5 separate regions of the Homo sapiens genome follow, and regions 2, 3, 4 and 5 are each linked to region 1. Evidence: promoter capture Hi-C in 16 types of primary human blood cells and fetal thymus (Javierre and others, 2016). All regions are on one chromosome and are shown on one strand. The core of a region is centred on a gene start or on the middle of the fragment in contact, and the rest is flanking DNA. Distances in the headings are between cores, read along the strand shown.

What was found. The method cuts DNA at HindIII sites, captures the fragments that hold promoters and counts their contacts. A CHiCAGO score of 5 or more calls a contact.
Region 2: a contact is called between a fragment that was not itself captured here and the fragment with the promoter of SECTM1 in region 1, in 1 of 17 cell types (activated CD4 T cells). The highest score is 5.4, in activated CD4 T cells.
Region 3: the fragment with the promoter of FASN here is called in contact with the fragment with the promoter of SECTM1 in region 1 in 10 of 17 cell types (total CD4 T cells, M0 macrophages, non-activated CD4 T cells and 7 more); the score reaches 11.5 in total CD4 T cells.
Region 4: a contact is called between a fragment that was not itself captured here and the fragment with the promoter of SECTM1 in region 1, in 1 of 17 cell types (activated CD4 T cells). The highest score is 6.0, in activated CD4 T cells.
Region 5: a fragment that was not itself captured here is called in contact with the fragment with the promoter of SECTM1 in region 1 in 2 of 17 cell types (naive CD4 T cells and naive CD8 T cells); the score reaches 6.1 in naive CD4 T cells.

What each region holds. Positions count from the first base shown.
Region 1 is chr17:82,332,383-82,335,073 of GRCh38, reverse strand. It overlaps SECTM1 (secreted and transmembrane 1), which reads left to right and starts at 1,308. Exons shown (of 5, transcript NM_003004.3): 1 at 1,308-1,374. RefSeq lists an enhancer at 2,002-2,691 and a silencer at 2,681-2,691. The HindIII fragment of the contact is 7,811 bases long and covers 1-2,691 here.
Region 2 is chr17:82,574,790-82,577,480 of GRCh38, reverse strand. The region is part of intron 4 of FOXK2 (forkhead box K2); the gene reads right to left. It also overlaps the pseudogene ARL2BPP9. Among named protein-coding and RNA genes, the nearest start is that of FOXK2-AS1, 12 kb to the left of the region's middle. The HindIII fragment of the contact is 4,658 bases long and covers 1-2,691 here.
Region 3 is chr17:82,096,889-82,099,579 of GRCh38, reverse strand. It overlaps FASN (fatty acid synthase), which reads left to right and starts at 1,344. Exons shown (of 43, transcript NM_004104.5): 1 at 1,344-1,459. RefSeq lists silencers at 172-1,651, 1,722-1,911, 1,932-2,141, 2,202-2,251 and an enhancer at 2,120-2,691. The HindIII fragment of the contact is 59,862 bases long and covers 1-2,691 here.
Region 4 is chr17:82,497,905-82,500,595 of GRCh38, reverse strand. No RefSeq gene overlaps it. Among named protein-coding and RNA genes, the nearest start is that of TRX-CAT1-8, 4.5 kb to the right of the region's middle. The HindIII fragment of the contact is 2,729 bases long and covers 13-2,691 here.
Region 5 is chr17:82,180,903-82,183,593 of GRCh38, reverse strand. The region is part of intron 8 of CCDC57 (coiled-coil domain containing 57); the gene reads left to right. Among named protein-coding and RNA genes, the nearest start is that of CCDC57, 31 kb to the left of the region's middle. RefSeq lists an enhancer at 1,979-2,691. The HindIII fragment of the contact is 7,884 bases long and covers 1-2,691 here.

The DNA.
Region 1 (2,691 bases), core at 59-2,558:
GATCTAGTAGGCAGGAAAAAAGGAGAAGGAAGCTGTGGCTGCTGGGGGATGTGGCCTCGGGGACAAGCCCCTCTGTGCAGAGGACGTGGGCAGGTGGGATTTCAGCCCCCTCTCCAGCATCTCACTGGCAGCCAGGGTGGCTGGGGTTTCCCCGAGGGCGGGGGCTGGGGAATCTGACCTCTGTGCCCCGGCCATGGTGCCGTCTTGCTGGGAGGATGACAGGCTGTGTTTCACCTGCCAATTTGGCGACAGTTTCTCTTTTGGAACATCCCGGGGGACTTTGTTCTGTGCCACCCACCTCTGGACCCTGGGTCTGATGGCTGAGCTGCAGGCTCCAAGGTTCAGCGTCCAGTCTGGCCCTGCTCCGTCCATTCCCCACATTTGAGGGTTTCCCGGAGTTTGGTTCTGCTTCTTCCTCTCTTCCATGAAACTGGGGGCATTGCCCACGCCCCAGTGTCCCCCATCATCTGCCCGGTGGGGACTTGCCCACTCACGTGACTGCAGCCTGTGGGGCCTCCTCCTAGTGTCCCGAAGATACCTGGTCATCCTTGACCCCGCCCGCACCTGCCCGCGTGCCCCCTCGGGTTCTAGTGGAGGACGTGGCCCGCCTGCCACCCCGCCAGGCGCCGGGTCCTCCAGGCCTCCTCGAGCCACCTCCTGCCCACCTGGGATGTCTGTGGGTTCCCGGCCCGGATGCGTCTTGGAGCCTTCTACCCGCACCCCAATCTCCTGCCCCAACAGGCTGGGCCCCTCCTCCCGGGCTGGCCAGGCCAGCACCTCCGCAGGGGCCGCAGGACGCCTGAAGGCCCAGGCCGCAGGTGCAGGACCCTCTGCGGGGGAGCTGGGGGACATCACTCCTCTGCTCTGCGCGCTTTTATGAAAGGGCCTCTGACCCTCCGGGGGTCCAGCTCACTCTGCCCGCGCACTCCCAGGCATCTGGGGGCCGCCCCCCGCCCTCCCTCCCCGCGGCCCACTCGGCCCGCCCAGCTCGCCCCGTGCACAGACTCGAGGCCTCCAGGAGCGGAGCCAAACAGCCCCGCGGGGAACGCGCGCCGCACGCGAGCTGGACCCGCCCAGGCACGAACTCTCCTGGAAAAATGCTCCCGGCGGCTTTCCTGCTTCCTTTAGCGTGAACCGCGGGTGCGGTGCCTCCCGTGAAAATAATAAATTCACCGTCACGCTTGTTGTGAACGCGGGTGGTTCCCGAAACTTGGAGGCTTCCCGTAAACCCAGCTCCTTCCTCATCTGGGAGGTGGGTCCCGCGCGGGTCCGCCGCCTCCTCCCTGGCCCCTCCCTCTCGTGTCTTTCATTTTCCTGGGGCTCCGGGGCGCGGAGAAGCTGCATCCCAGAGGAGCGCGTCCAGGAGCGGACCCGGTGAGGCGCGGAGAGGGGCGGGCGGGGGAACCAGAGGGGCGGGCTCGGTGCTGGGGACTCGGTGCTGGGGACTCGGTGCTGGGGACTCGGTGCTGAGGGCCCGGTGCTGGGGACTCGGTGCTGGGGGCTCGGTGTTAGGGCCTCTTGGTGCACTGGGGTTGCCGGTCCGCGCAGGGATGGGGACTCTGGGGCTGCGGCGCCTCTGCCTCTGGGACCGTCACCCCCCGCTGGCCCTGAGCGTGCGTCGCAGGCCAGGCGGGCGGGGTCGCAGCGGGCGTACCCGAGTATGGGCGGGAACGAGCTGCCGGCCGGTGTGGGGACCCGCGTCCCTGCCCTGTGCGCCAGGCTCGACTCTTGAAGGGACAGAGGCGGCGTCTCGGACCCGGGGCTCCCCTAAGTCCGATGGGTCGGAGCCCCCTCCTCCCTTCCCGGTCCTCGGCCTCACCCGGGGTTCCCTGCGCCGTCGCTGCGACCAAGCTGGGAGCAAAACGCACTCGCTCATATGCGTGCACACAAGCTGGTGGACACACGCACATGAGCACACGCAGGCACGCGTGGACTGTTGCACACTCCACAGCCACAGCCTCGTGTGCACTCACAGCAAACTCATGAAACAGGAACCGTGAGGCTTCCCTCACCCGGCAGGCCCTCAGCTGCCCGTTCTCACGCGGGTTTTGCTGACTCCGCAGTAATCACCACATTCAGTTCCTTGCCCACTACTGGTGAATCACCTGCAGCTTGAGAAGCACGTTTTCTGCCGGTGGTCAGCAGAGGATCCCCGGCTTCTAGGAGGCCCAGGGCGACCGGCTGCAGGAGCCCGCGTAGGAGGCCTGTCTCCAGCAGGGCGGGGGTGGTGGCAGGGCCTCTCCACGGGGCTGCTGCTGAGCCCAGAGCGGGAGGACAGGAGGCCACCAGCAGAGGGGACAGGTGAACAGGTGCTGAGCAGGAAGGGTTAGCCCGGTCTAGCCCCAGGCCTGGGGGGCTTTGCTGCTCACCTGGGGTCCCCTCTGGGCCTGGCTCAGCAGAGACCAGGGCAGAGCCGTCCACACCGTGGGCCTGGGTGGGGTCCATGGCCTCTGCAGGCTGCAGCTGTCTTCTGAGAGGTGTTGGTGTGCTCATTCTCGGTAGAGACGTGGGGTCACCTGTGTTCCCTGAGCCCCTGCAGCAGCTGGGAAAGCAGTGTCAGCCACCCCTCAGGTGCTGTGGGGGTACAGAGTCCACTGACCACACAGGAGGACCCCAATGAACCCAGCCCGAGGGGGCCGGAGCTTCCACACACCCAGCACCCATGGGAGCCGGGACAGGCAGGCGCCCGGG
Region 2 (2,691 bases), core at 120-2,619, 240 kb before region 1:
GGCTGCGAGACCTTAACCCGGCCGCCCGCCACGCCCTGCATGCAGGTTGGGCCACAGGCGGGGTAGGAGCCTGCTCGGGGCTGCAGTGATGGACACCTTAGAAGAAGAGAGCTTTGTGCTGTCTTTCTCCTCCACCTCTGATGAATTTGCTGTTGTGGTTGGATATTTAGAGAACGTTATCATGGATAACGAGTTCCAGTTATTACAGAGAAATTACATGGACAAGTACTACCTGGAGTTTGAAGACACGGAAGAGAATAAACTCACCTACACACCTATTTTTAATGAATACATTTCTTTTTTTCTTTTTCTTTTTTTGAGACGGAGTTTTGCTCTTGTTGCCCAGGCTGGAGTGCAATGACGCGGTATCAGCTCACCGCAGTCTCCGCCATGTGGGTTCAAACAATTCTCCTGCTTCAGCCTCCTGAGTAGCTGGGATTACAGGCACGCACCACCACACCCCGCTAATAATATTGTATTTTTAGTAGAGATGTAGTTTCTCCGTGTTGGTCATCTGGTCTCGAACCCTCCAACCACAGGTGATCTGCCGGCCACAGCCTCCCAAAGTGCTGGGATTACAGGCGTGAGCCACCGCACCCAGCCTGCATACATTTTTTTGGTAGAAAAATATATTGAAGAACAGCTGCTGGAGCGGATTTCTGGATTCAACATGGCAGCTTTCACCACCACATTACAGCACCATAAAAATGAAGCAGCTGGTGACATATTCGACATGCTGCTACGTTCACGGTTTTGGACTACAGAGCAGAAAAAGAAGGCCGAGGACTAGACTTAAGCAGTGGCTTAGTGGTGACTTCGTTGTGTCAATCATCTTCTGTGCCAGCTTCCCAGAACAATCTGCGGCACTGGGTCCTCCCTCCAGCCAATGAATTGGAACATTCTGGATGTCACCAGCCCAACAGGCTCAGCTCATGATGACAGAATACATCTTGGAAAAAGACTGACTCTGTTTTGTAATTCTTCATTTATGTTAAGTATTGACAGGTCAAAACCAAAATGACTTAACCCTCCTAGACCTATTTCTCCTGAAACACCTTCTTGTATTCATTAACCGTAGTATTCCTCCCCTCCTCAAGGAGACACTTCTCTCAGGAGCTTCTGAGTCAGACGCCTCTGGAGCGAGCCCATGTCCAGCACTCCACTTGGGGGGTCCTTCCCCGAGCACACACGCTGGTGTGGACGAACCCGCCGCCGCCACCCGAGCACACACGCTGGTGTGGACGAACCCGCCGCCGCCACCCGAGCACACACGCTGGTGTGGACGAACCCGCCGCCGCCACCCGAGCACACACGCTGGTGTGGACGAACCCGCCGCCGCCACCCGAGCACACACGCTGGTGTGGACGAACCCGCCGCCGCCACCCGAGCACACACGCTGGTGTGGACGAACCCGCCGCCGCCACCCGAGCACACGCTGGTGTGGACGAACCCGCCGCCGCCACCCGAGCACACACGCTGGTGTGGACGTGTGGACGAACCCGCCGCCGCCACCCGAGCACACACGCTGGTGTGGATGAACCCGCCGCCGCCACCCAAGCACACACGCTGGTGTGGACGTGTGGATGAACCCGCCGCCACCCTCTGTCCCAGCAGGCTCTGCGTGAATCTTTGCGCATCTGCATCTCTTTATCTCTTCTTCACATGGGTCAGTTTCAGTACTTCAGCCTCAATGGGGTTCCTGATGTCTATCTAGGGTGTTACTCAAGCCCAGCTTGAGATTTCAGAATCTCCTGTGATCACAGCTTGTCTCGGCTGTAGCAATCAACAGAAAGAGACGTCCTCTACATAAAAGTTCCACGTGAAAAGCCACTCCTAGTCTTAACATTTGCAGTCCTTGTGTCGCTGTCTTCTGCTCCTGATGTAGTCCCACTGTTTCTAGAAGTCTCTTTTAAGCATTATTTTAAAAATATATATTTTTATAGATGAATACTCAGGCTAATCTAGTGGATATGATCTTGGGACTTCCATGCTTATCCACTTAAAGATCAAAGTACTATATGCCGTGTGCTTTTTAGGTGTTAGTGCTGTGAAGGCAAAAATGCTTTCTACAATGGCGTTCCTTCCTATTTGACTGGGCACCTACGAATTTATGCTGTGTGCTAGAAATAGACTAAAACATTCTTACAGCATGTTAGTGTGTTTGCGTGTTTGCTGAAGATCACTTCGGTATAAACCAGTTTGTTAGGCTCTCTGGGTTAGGGACTCTGCATTTTCTTCCTCTCCTACCGAGATGGTGTTCCACTGGTCCAGCCCGGCAGGAGCAGCAGGCAGGGCACAGCTTTACTGGCTGTTTGCTGCTTTGCTTTAGTGCAATGTGTGGTACATTACTTATCAGAAAACACGTATGTCATCTCTAGAAAGAAGAAAAAGCATAGTAGTTCAATGCCCAGTGTGTCCCTTTGATTTGTTTAATAGTAAAAATAAGACTCTGTACTGACTTTTCACTTGGCCGTCCTGGTTTTAAAGGACAAGCTACAAGCTCTGTGTTTTCTGTACTGAAGTGTCACTTATTAAATACTTTTGTACCATGAAAAAATCAAATCATAGGACGTAAATGCAAACAAAAGAAAGACATATGGCATCTTTTCAAATAGGATTCCTCAGACCATCTCATTTCACCCTCAGATGTCCTCTGTGGATTGACCAAAAAGCTATACCATAGGTAGACAA
Region 3 (2,691 bases), core at 95-2,594, 240 kb after region 1:
GACCCTCAGGCCTGCTCTCAGGAGAGGAAGGAAGCGGGACACCTGCAGAGGGGCCGGGGGCCCCAGTCTCCGGTTCCCCTTCAGCGGCCCGGGCTTGCTGAGCCCTCAAAGTAGGACACGCAGCCAGAGACACCTGTGGCCTCACAAGGCCCGCTTGCCCCCCATGGGGTGCCTGGCCCCGCAAGCGCGAAGCGGTCAGAAAAGGGAGGCCGCGCTTCAGGGCTCAGGCCGCCCAAGGGGCCACGATTCGAGGAATCACTCGGGAGGGAGGGAGCGCGCGAGGGCCGGGCTGAGCCCCCGCCCGTGGGTGCGCGCCTGGAAAACTCGCAGCCTCCGCCCTGGGAAGTGGGGCAGCGGCTCCCTTTGTCCGCACCACACCAGGTGGGTGTCCCGGCCGACTCCGCTCGCCACGTGGCCGCGCCCCTCCCCTCCGCCGAGCTCCAGCGGCCTGGAGTGCGCTCGCCCGTTCGGCCCTGCGCCTCGTCCGGGTCCCCGGGAAGCTGCTAAGGAGGGGCCGTCGGGTGGGTGGACGTCCGTCTCGGGTCTGGGTTCCCCGCCGCACCCGCGAGGAAAACCGGGGATGCGCTGCGATGACCGGCAGTAACCCCGGCCGGGGCGCCCGCGGCCGGGGTCAACGCCCGCACTTGCGCCGCGGCCCGCGAGGCATCCGGGACCGCCCCGCCGCCCGCCCATCACCCTATCGCCTAGCAACGCCCACCCGCGCGCCGCCATTGGGCCGGTGCGAACACCCCTGGCGCCCGATTGGTTGCTGCTGCCGCCGCGCCGCGCAACGCCGCGCCCTCAGCCAGCTCCGCGCGGGCAGCGACGGCGGCGTGGAGTCGGCGGCCGAAGTGCGGGCACGCGGGTCCGTCCGTCCTTCCGCGCGCCTGTGGGTCCGAGCGCCCCGCCGCAGCCGGCTGGACCCCCGGTGTGGCCACGGGGTAGTCCCCAGTGTGGCCCAAGCATTCCCATCCCGCACACGTGGCCCCGGCGGACACGGGGGTCGGGGATGGCTCGGGAGGCGCGCCGCGGGCTCGGTCGCAGCCGCGTGCGCGTCGGGGCCCGCGGGGCGGGAGGCGGAAGTCGGGGGGCGGTGGTTTCCCGCCCGCCCCGCCCCCGGCGCTCCTCAGTCCCAGCCCCACCCCCCCAGGCGCGTTCCCGCGCAGGGTCCCGGCTCGGGCGGCGGCGCGCACGAGCATCACCCCACCGGCGGCGGCGCGCCGGGTCCCGGGGCGCAGCCCCGACGCTCATTGGCCTGGGCGGCGCAGCCAAGCTGTCAGCCCATGTGGCGTGGCCGCCCGGGGATGGCCGCGGTTTAAATAGCGTCGGCGCCGGCCTAGAGGGAGCCAGAGAGACGGCAGCGGCCCCGGCCTCCCTCTCCGCCGCGCTTCAGCCTCCCGCTCCGCCGCGCTCCAGCCTCGCTCTCCGCCGCCCGCACCGCCGCCCGCGCCCTCACCAGGTACGAGCAGCCGGCGCTGGGGCCGGGGCGCGGGTCGTGGTCGGGGCTGGGCCCGGGGTTCCCGGGGTGGCCCGGCTCCTCATCCTCCGCTCTCGGGGCGCGCGTGGCCCGGCCCCGTATCCAGGGGTCGCCTGGGCGGCCTGTCCGGGTCTCGGTGTTCGTGCCCCTTCGGAGGCGCCCGGGGCCCCGCGGAGTAGGTGGGCGGATGGCGGGGGAAGGACGCCGGGGAAAGCCACCAACAGCCGCCTTCGCTTCCCGTGGGGGAGGCCGCGGACCCTGAAGGGCCTGGAGGAGCCCCCGGCTCGGCCTCCCCGCGCCCACAAAGGCGCCGCCGCATCCTCCTCCCGGAGCCGCCCCGGAGCCGAGGCCCAGCCCGAAGGGGACGCCGCGAGGGAGGAACGGGGGGGCGCAGGGGCCGCGCCGGGACCGGCCTCCCCATCACGTGGCGCAGCCCGGCCGAAGCGCAGGGGTCCCGAGCAGCCCCCGCCCGGGGCGAAGGGAGGCCGGGCGCGCCGCGGTGTTCCCACCCCCTGCCTGGCCGTCGACCCCGCGTGAATAGCAAGCGGCGAGGACCCAGCGTGCGGGCCTGGAGCTGGCCCGGGGCAGCCAAGCCTCTGTGAATCGCAGCGGGTGGGAAGGCGGCCGCCTCCCTGCCGGGACGGCCCAAGGGAGGCCGCACTGCCGAGGGGCGGCGCGCGTATCAGGCCCTGGGGCCTCGTGCAAGTGGCCAGACCAGCGCTGGCCTCCGCCCCCTCCCCCCAGGGCCGCACCAGCCCTCATGCTGGAGGAGGAGCCGGCGGCCTGGGCACCCGTTCCGGGTCTTAGGGACCTGGGCTCCAGGGAGGGCCTCCTGTGGTGTGTGGGTTGGTATGGGGAGGCAAGCGTCTGTGGGTTCACCCGCGCAGGTGAAGGGTGCCAGGCAACACCTGCGTGTCCTGGCCAGGAGTGGTTCTCCAGGTTGGACCCTGCTGGAGGGGTTGGACTGGCTGGGTCGGTCCACAGTGGGGCAGGGGCCACCTTTCCCCCAGAGCATAGGCTATCCCCATTTCGTCCCTCCCCAGCCCTGGTGGCTCTTGGGCTGGCCTGGACAGCGGGCCCCCACCCCAACACGGGTGAGCATGGGTGCTGAGTACCCCCCTCTAGGGCTCCCAGCCACCTCCATGCCCCGGCTTTGGGACCCTGCCTCTCCATTTCTTTGATGGCCCTTAGCAGGCTGGCCACCTGAGGCCTTG
Region 4 (2,691 bases), core at 128-2,627, 170 kb before region 1:
GGAGATCAAGCTTTGAAATACTTCCCAACACACAGTCTGGAACATTCTCCGAACATCTGACTCCCATAGTGTGAGCAGAGAACCTACTCTTGAATGCTGGTCAGGATGGGAAATCCCTCCTGGAGGGCAGATTCTATGGAGCTGGTCCCTGCCCCACAGCAGAAATTTTGCTGCAGTGAACCATTTCTTGGAATGCCTGTGCTTGCAGGGCACACGCCTGTGGCAGCACCAACTGTGATCCCTGGAGTGTGAAGTCACATCAAGGCTTTGCACATCTGAAACATATGCAATTGTCCTGAGAAATTCTGGAAGTTCCAGAAGAAATAACACACAAATTGCTAATAACACAGCAAAAGTAGCTGAAGAGATGTGTGTTCTCAGGACAGAACCCCTTCACACACTCGCAAGTCAGTATGTGTGGTGTATTGTTATTTTGTTTATTTATTGATGGAGTCTCTGTCTGTCGCCCAGGCTGGAGTGCAGTGACATGATCTCTGCTCACTGCAACCTCCACTTCCTAGGTTCAAGCGATTCTCCTGCTTCAGCCTCCCGAGTAGCTGGGACGACAGGCGCATGCCACCATGCCCGGCTAAATTTTTGTATTTTTTTTTTTTTTTTTTTGAGACGGAGCCTCGCTCTGTCGCCCAGGCTGGAGTGCAGTGGCGTGATCTGGGCTCACTGCAAGCTCCGCCTCCCGGGTTCACGCCATTCTCCTGCCTCAGCCTCCCAAGTAGCTGGAACTACAGGCATCCACCACCACACCCAGCTAATTTTTTGTATTTTTAGTAGAGACGGGGTTTCACCACGTTAGCCAGGATGGTCTTGATCTCCTGACCTCACGATCCGCCTGCCTTGGCCTCCCAAAGTGCTGGGATTACAGGCGTGAGCCACCGCGCCCGGTGAATTTTTTGTATTTTTAGTAGAGATGGGGTTTCATTGTGTTAGCCAGGATGGTCTCGATCTCCTGACCTCGTGATCCGCCCACCTCAGCCTCCCAAAGTACTGGGATTACAGGCGTGAGCCACCGCATCCGGCCAGTGTATTGTTATTTTATTACACAATTGTGGAGCTCAAGACAAAGTACTGTATCACAACAGAAATTAAAAACACTAATGGTCAAAACCATGAAGGAAAAGAATCGTCGTAACTAAAAAAATATGGAGAATGAAAATGACGATACAGACATTATGAGAGAACACACCAAACAGAAAGCAAAGATGCAGAAGGGAGCTGAAGGTCACAGACAGGAAAACCACAGCTGGTCCAGTCAGCAGGACACACACTGGGCTGGCCACAGACACACCCACAAATTTGCTGGTTTCAGTACCACGCTGTCTCATTACACCTGTTACGACGAGCAGTAATTCCACTCAACACTTTTTAGTGGAAGATTTATTGTTCAAGATTCCGATCCTGCAACTTGCACTTAATCAACTAAAACACATCAGACAAAACAGATGCTTCTCAAAACATTTTGAAACCATTTTTTTTTTTGGAGACAGAGTCTCGCTCTGTCACCCAGGCTGGAGTCCAATGGCACCATCTCGGCTCACTGAAGCTCCGCCTCCCGGGTTCAAGCGATTCTCCTGCCTCAGCCTCTCGAGTAGCTGGGATTACAGGCGCCACCACGCCGCGCTAATTTTTTGTATTTTAGTACAGGCGGGGTTTCACCATGTTGTCCAGGCTGGTCTTGAACTCCTGAACTCAGGCAATCTGTCCACGTAGGCCTCTCAAAGTGCTAGGATTACAGGGGTGAAACACCACTCCCGGCCAAAATAGGTTTTTTTAAACAGAAAAACTGCCACCTGATGTTGGTTAGTCTTTCCTAAGACTAAACATTGCCTATGTTGTTTGGTTGTATAGGTTTTTAAACCAGACCGACATTACCTACATCAGGGAGTCTTTTACATAAATGAATACCGGTTTTTTTTTTTTTTTTTTTTTTTGAGACAGAGTCTCACTGTCACTCAGGCTGGAGGGCAGTGGCACGATCTCGGCTCACTGTAACCTCCGCCTCCCAGGTTCAAGTGATTCTCCTGCCTCAGCCTCCCGATAGCTGGGATTACAGGCACACACCACCACGCCCGGCTAATTTTTGTATTTTTAGTAGAGACGGGGTTTCACCATGTTGGCCAGGATGGTCTCGATCTCTTGATCTTGTGATCCACCCGCCTCGGCCTCCCAAAGTGCTGGGATTACAGGCATGGGCTACCGCGCCCGGCCCCATCAGTGAGTATCTTGAGAACCCTCAACAATCACAAAGGCTCCGCATAGCACACGAAGGATTTGTGGACTTGAGTCACACAGAAATCACGAACAGAATGTACGTGGTGTCATTAGTGAAGAAGAGTGAATAGTAAACATGGAAGTCAGCCTGCGTTTCTCCGGAAATCACAACGCTGGAAAGCTGGTATTAAGCCGCTCTGGGCCGGGCGGGGTTGCTCACACCTGCACTCCCAGCGCGTAGGAGGCCGAGGCGGGAGGATCCACGGAGCTCAGGAGTTCGAGACCAGCGTGAGCAACAGTGTGAGACCCACCCCCCCACCCACCCCCAGTCCTCTACCAAAGACAAAGGAAAAACGCTACCGGGAAGACGCGCGGAATTCCGGGCCAGTCACTGCGCGGGGCACTTGAAATGCCTGAAATCCTTCCCGTCACATAGGAGAGGTTGGGCCAGATCTGACAGCAACC
Region 5 (2,691 bases), core at 83-2,582, 150 kb after region 1:
CAGAAGGGGCCGCCTGCTGGAGGGAGCATGGCCAGAGGATGGTGTTTCTCAGTCTGTAATAAGAGCCATAAAGGTGCTCCTGCTTGATTCTGCACTAAGAATCTCCTCTTGCCAAGCGTGGTGGCTCACACCTATAATCCCAGCACTTAGGGAGGCAGAAGCAGGAGGATTGCTGGAACCCAGGAGTTGGAGACCAGCCTGGTTAACATAGTGAGACCCCATCTCTGCAAAAAGGAAAACAAAAACAAAGAATCTCCTCGTCTGTCTTGTCTGATTGTTCATGTCCTCATGTGTTTCTTATCCGTTGGGGCGAACACTTCCTTGAACAAAGATAGCATTCTATTTCCCATACACATTCAAGTCAACTTTATTACAGAATACATATGCTAAACTCATCCATTTTAACTCTACACTTGATGAATTTTGATGAATGTGTATGCTGTATGATATCATTTGGCTCTATGTCCCCCCCCAAATCTAATCTCAAATTGTAATCCCCATGTGTCAAGGGAGGACCCTGATGGGAGGTGATTGGCTCATGGGGGCGGTTTCCCCGATGCTGTGCTTATGATAGTAAGTGAGTTCTGATGGTTTAAAAGTGTTTGGTGGGCCGGGTGTGATGGCTCACGCCTGTCATCCCAGCACTTTGGGAGGCCAAGGCTGTCAGATCACTTGAGGTCAGGAGTTCGAGACCAGCCTGGCCAACATGGTAAAACCCCGTCTCTACTAAAAATACAAAAATTAGCCAGGCATGGTGGCTCACGCCTGTAGTCCCAGATACTCCAGAGGCTGAGGTGGGAGAATCACTTGAACCCAGGAGGCGGAGGTTTTGGTGAGCCCAGATCGTGCCACTGCATTCCAGCCTGGGCAGCAGAGTGAGATTCTGTCTCAAAAAAATGAATAAACAAATAAAAAATAAAATATAAATAAATGTTTGGTGGGCCGGGCGCGGTGGCTCACATCTATAATCCCAGCACTTTGGGAGGCCAAGGCTGGCAGATCACCTGAGGTCAGGAGTTTGAGACCAGCCTGGACAACATGGTAAAACCCCATCTCTACTAAAAATACAAAAATTATCCCGGTGTGGTGTCACACGCCTGTAATCCCAGCTACTCGGGGGGCTGAGGCAGGAGAATCACTTGAACCCAGGAGGCGGAGGCTGCAGTGAGCCGAGATGGTGCTACTGCACTTCAGCCTGGGCAACAGAGCGAGACTGGGTCTCAAAAAAAAAAAAAGGAAAAGTACCAATGCTGAAAGAAACATGTTGTAATAACGTTCTTAGCTCTTCCTTCCAGCATTCTTTTTTTTTTTTGTTAAATACTTCCATTGACTGAAATAAAACATCATGTATCTTCAAGAAAGCACATTTAGATTTACCTATTACTTGTGTATGTAGAAAACCCTCATAATATGAACTAATGCAGAAGAAAAAAAACATGCTGTGATAATGTTCTCAACTTTTTTTCTTTTTTTTTTGAGATGGAGTCTCACTCTGTCACCCAGGCTGGAGTGCAGTGGCGCAATCTCAGCTCACTACAACCTCCACCTCCTGGGTACAAGCAGTTCTCCTGTGTCAGCCTCTAGAGTAGCTGGGATTACAGGCATGCGCCACCACGCCTGGCTAATTTTTGTATTTTTAGTAGAGACAGGGTTTCACCATGTTGGCCAGGCTGGTCTTGAACTCCTGACTTCAGGTGATCCACCTGCCTTGGCCTCCCAAAGTGCTGGGATGACAGGCGTGAGCCACCCCGCCTGGCTTATGTTCTCAACTCTTGATTCCAATGTTCCTTCTTCGTTAAACTCTTCCATTCACTGAAAGAAAACAGCACATATTACAATATTTAGACTTTTTTATACATTTAATTTCTCTCCTCATTATGTGCACGGTTGCCTTTAAATCTCTGAACTTATTTGTAATAGCTGCTTAAATGTATTTATCTGCTAATTCCATCATATCTTTATTTCTGAGTCTGTTTCTATGGGCTGATTTTTCTACTGGAGAGAGCTACATTTTTTTCTACTTCCTTGCCCATCTGGTAAGTTTTCACTGGATGTCAGACATGGTGAATATGATGTTGGCGAGCATCTGGTTTTGGCTGTGCTGTTTTTTGTTTGGCTGCAGTTAAGTATTTACATGGCAGCTTGACCCATTTGAGACTTGTTTAAAATCAGTGCGAGGGCAGGTGGGGCAGGTCTAGAGAAGCCTTTTCACCAGGGCTGACTCAGCACTATGACTCCCAGACCCCACTGCGTGCCCTGGAGCGAGAGCTCCAAGGATGCTCCGCCGGCCGCCCTGACGAGCTCTGGGAATCAGCGCACGTGGAGCCCCGTGCTGGCTGCTTCGTTCCCACGAGTTGCTCTTGGCCCAGCCGGTGTTGGCTTCTCCTGTGTATTTGCATGTGGCTGTCAGCCACAGCTTCTAGGGGATCCCTGCACAGATCCCAGGTTCCCCTCCTCTCTGCCCCTCTGCCTCATAAAGCCCATTTCAGCCACTTCAGCTTCTCCAAACTCCAACCTTCATCTCCTCGTCACAGCAAGACCACCGTGCTCTGCGTGGTTTGCCGTCCCTGCGGGGATCCGGAATGGCCTGTGGAGAGAAGCCGGGCGGCGAGTGGGCCCATCTCGCGAGGACCTTCTCTGAGGGGCCTCAGCCCCGCACCGCTCGTGTGTTCATCGTTCGCTCTGTGAAAG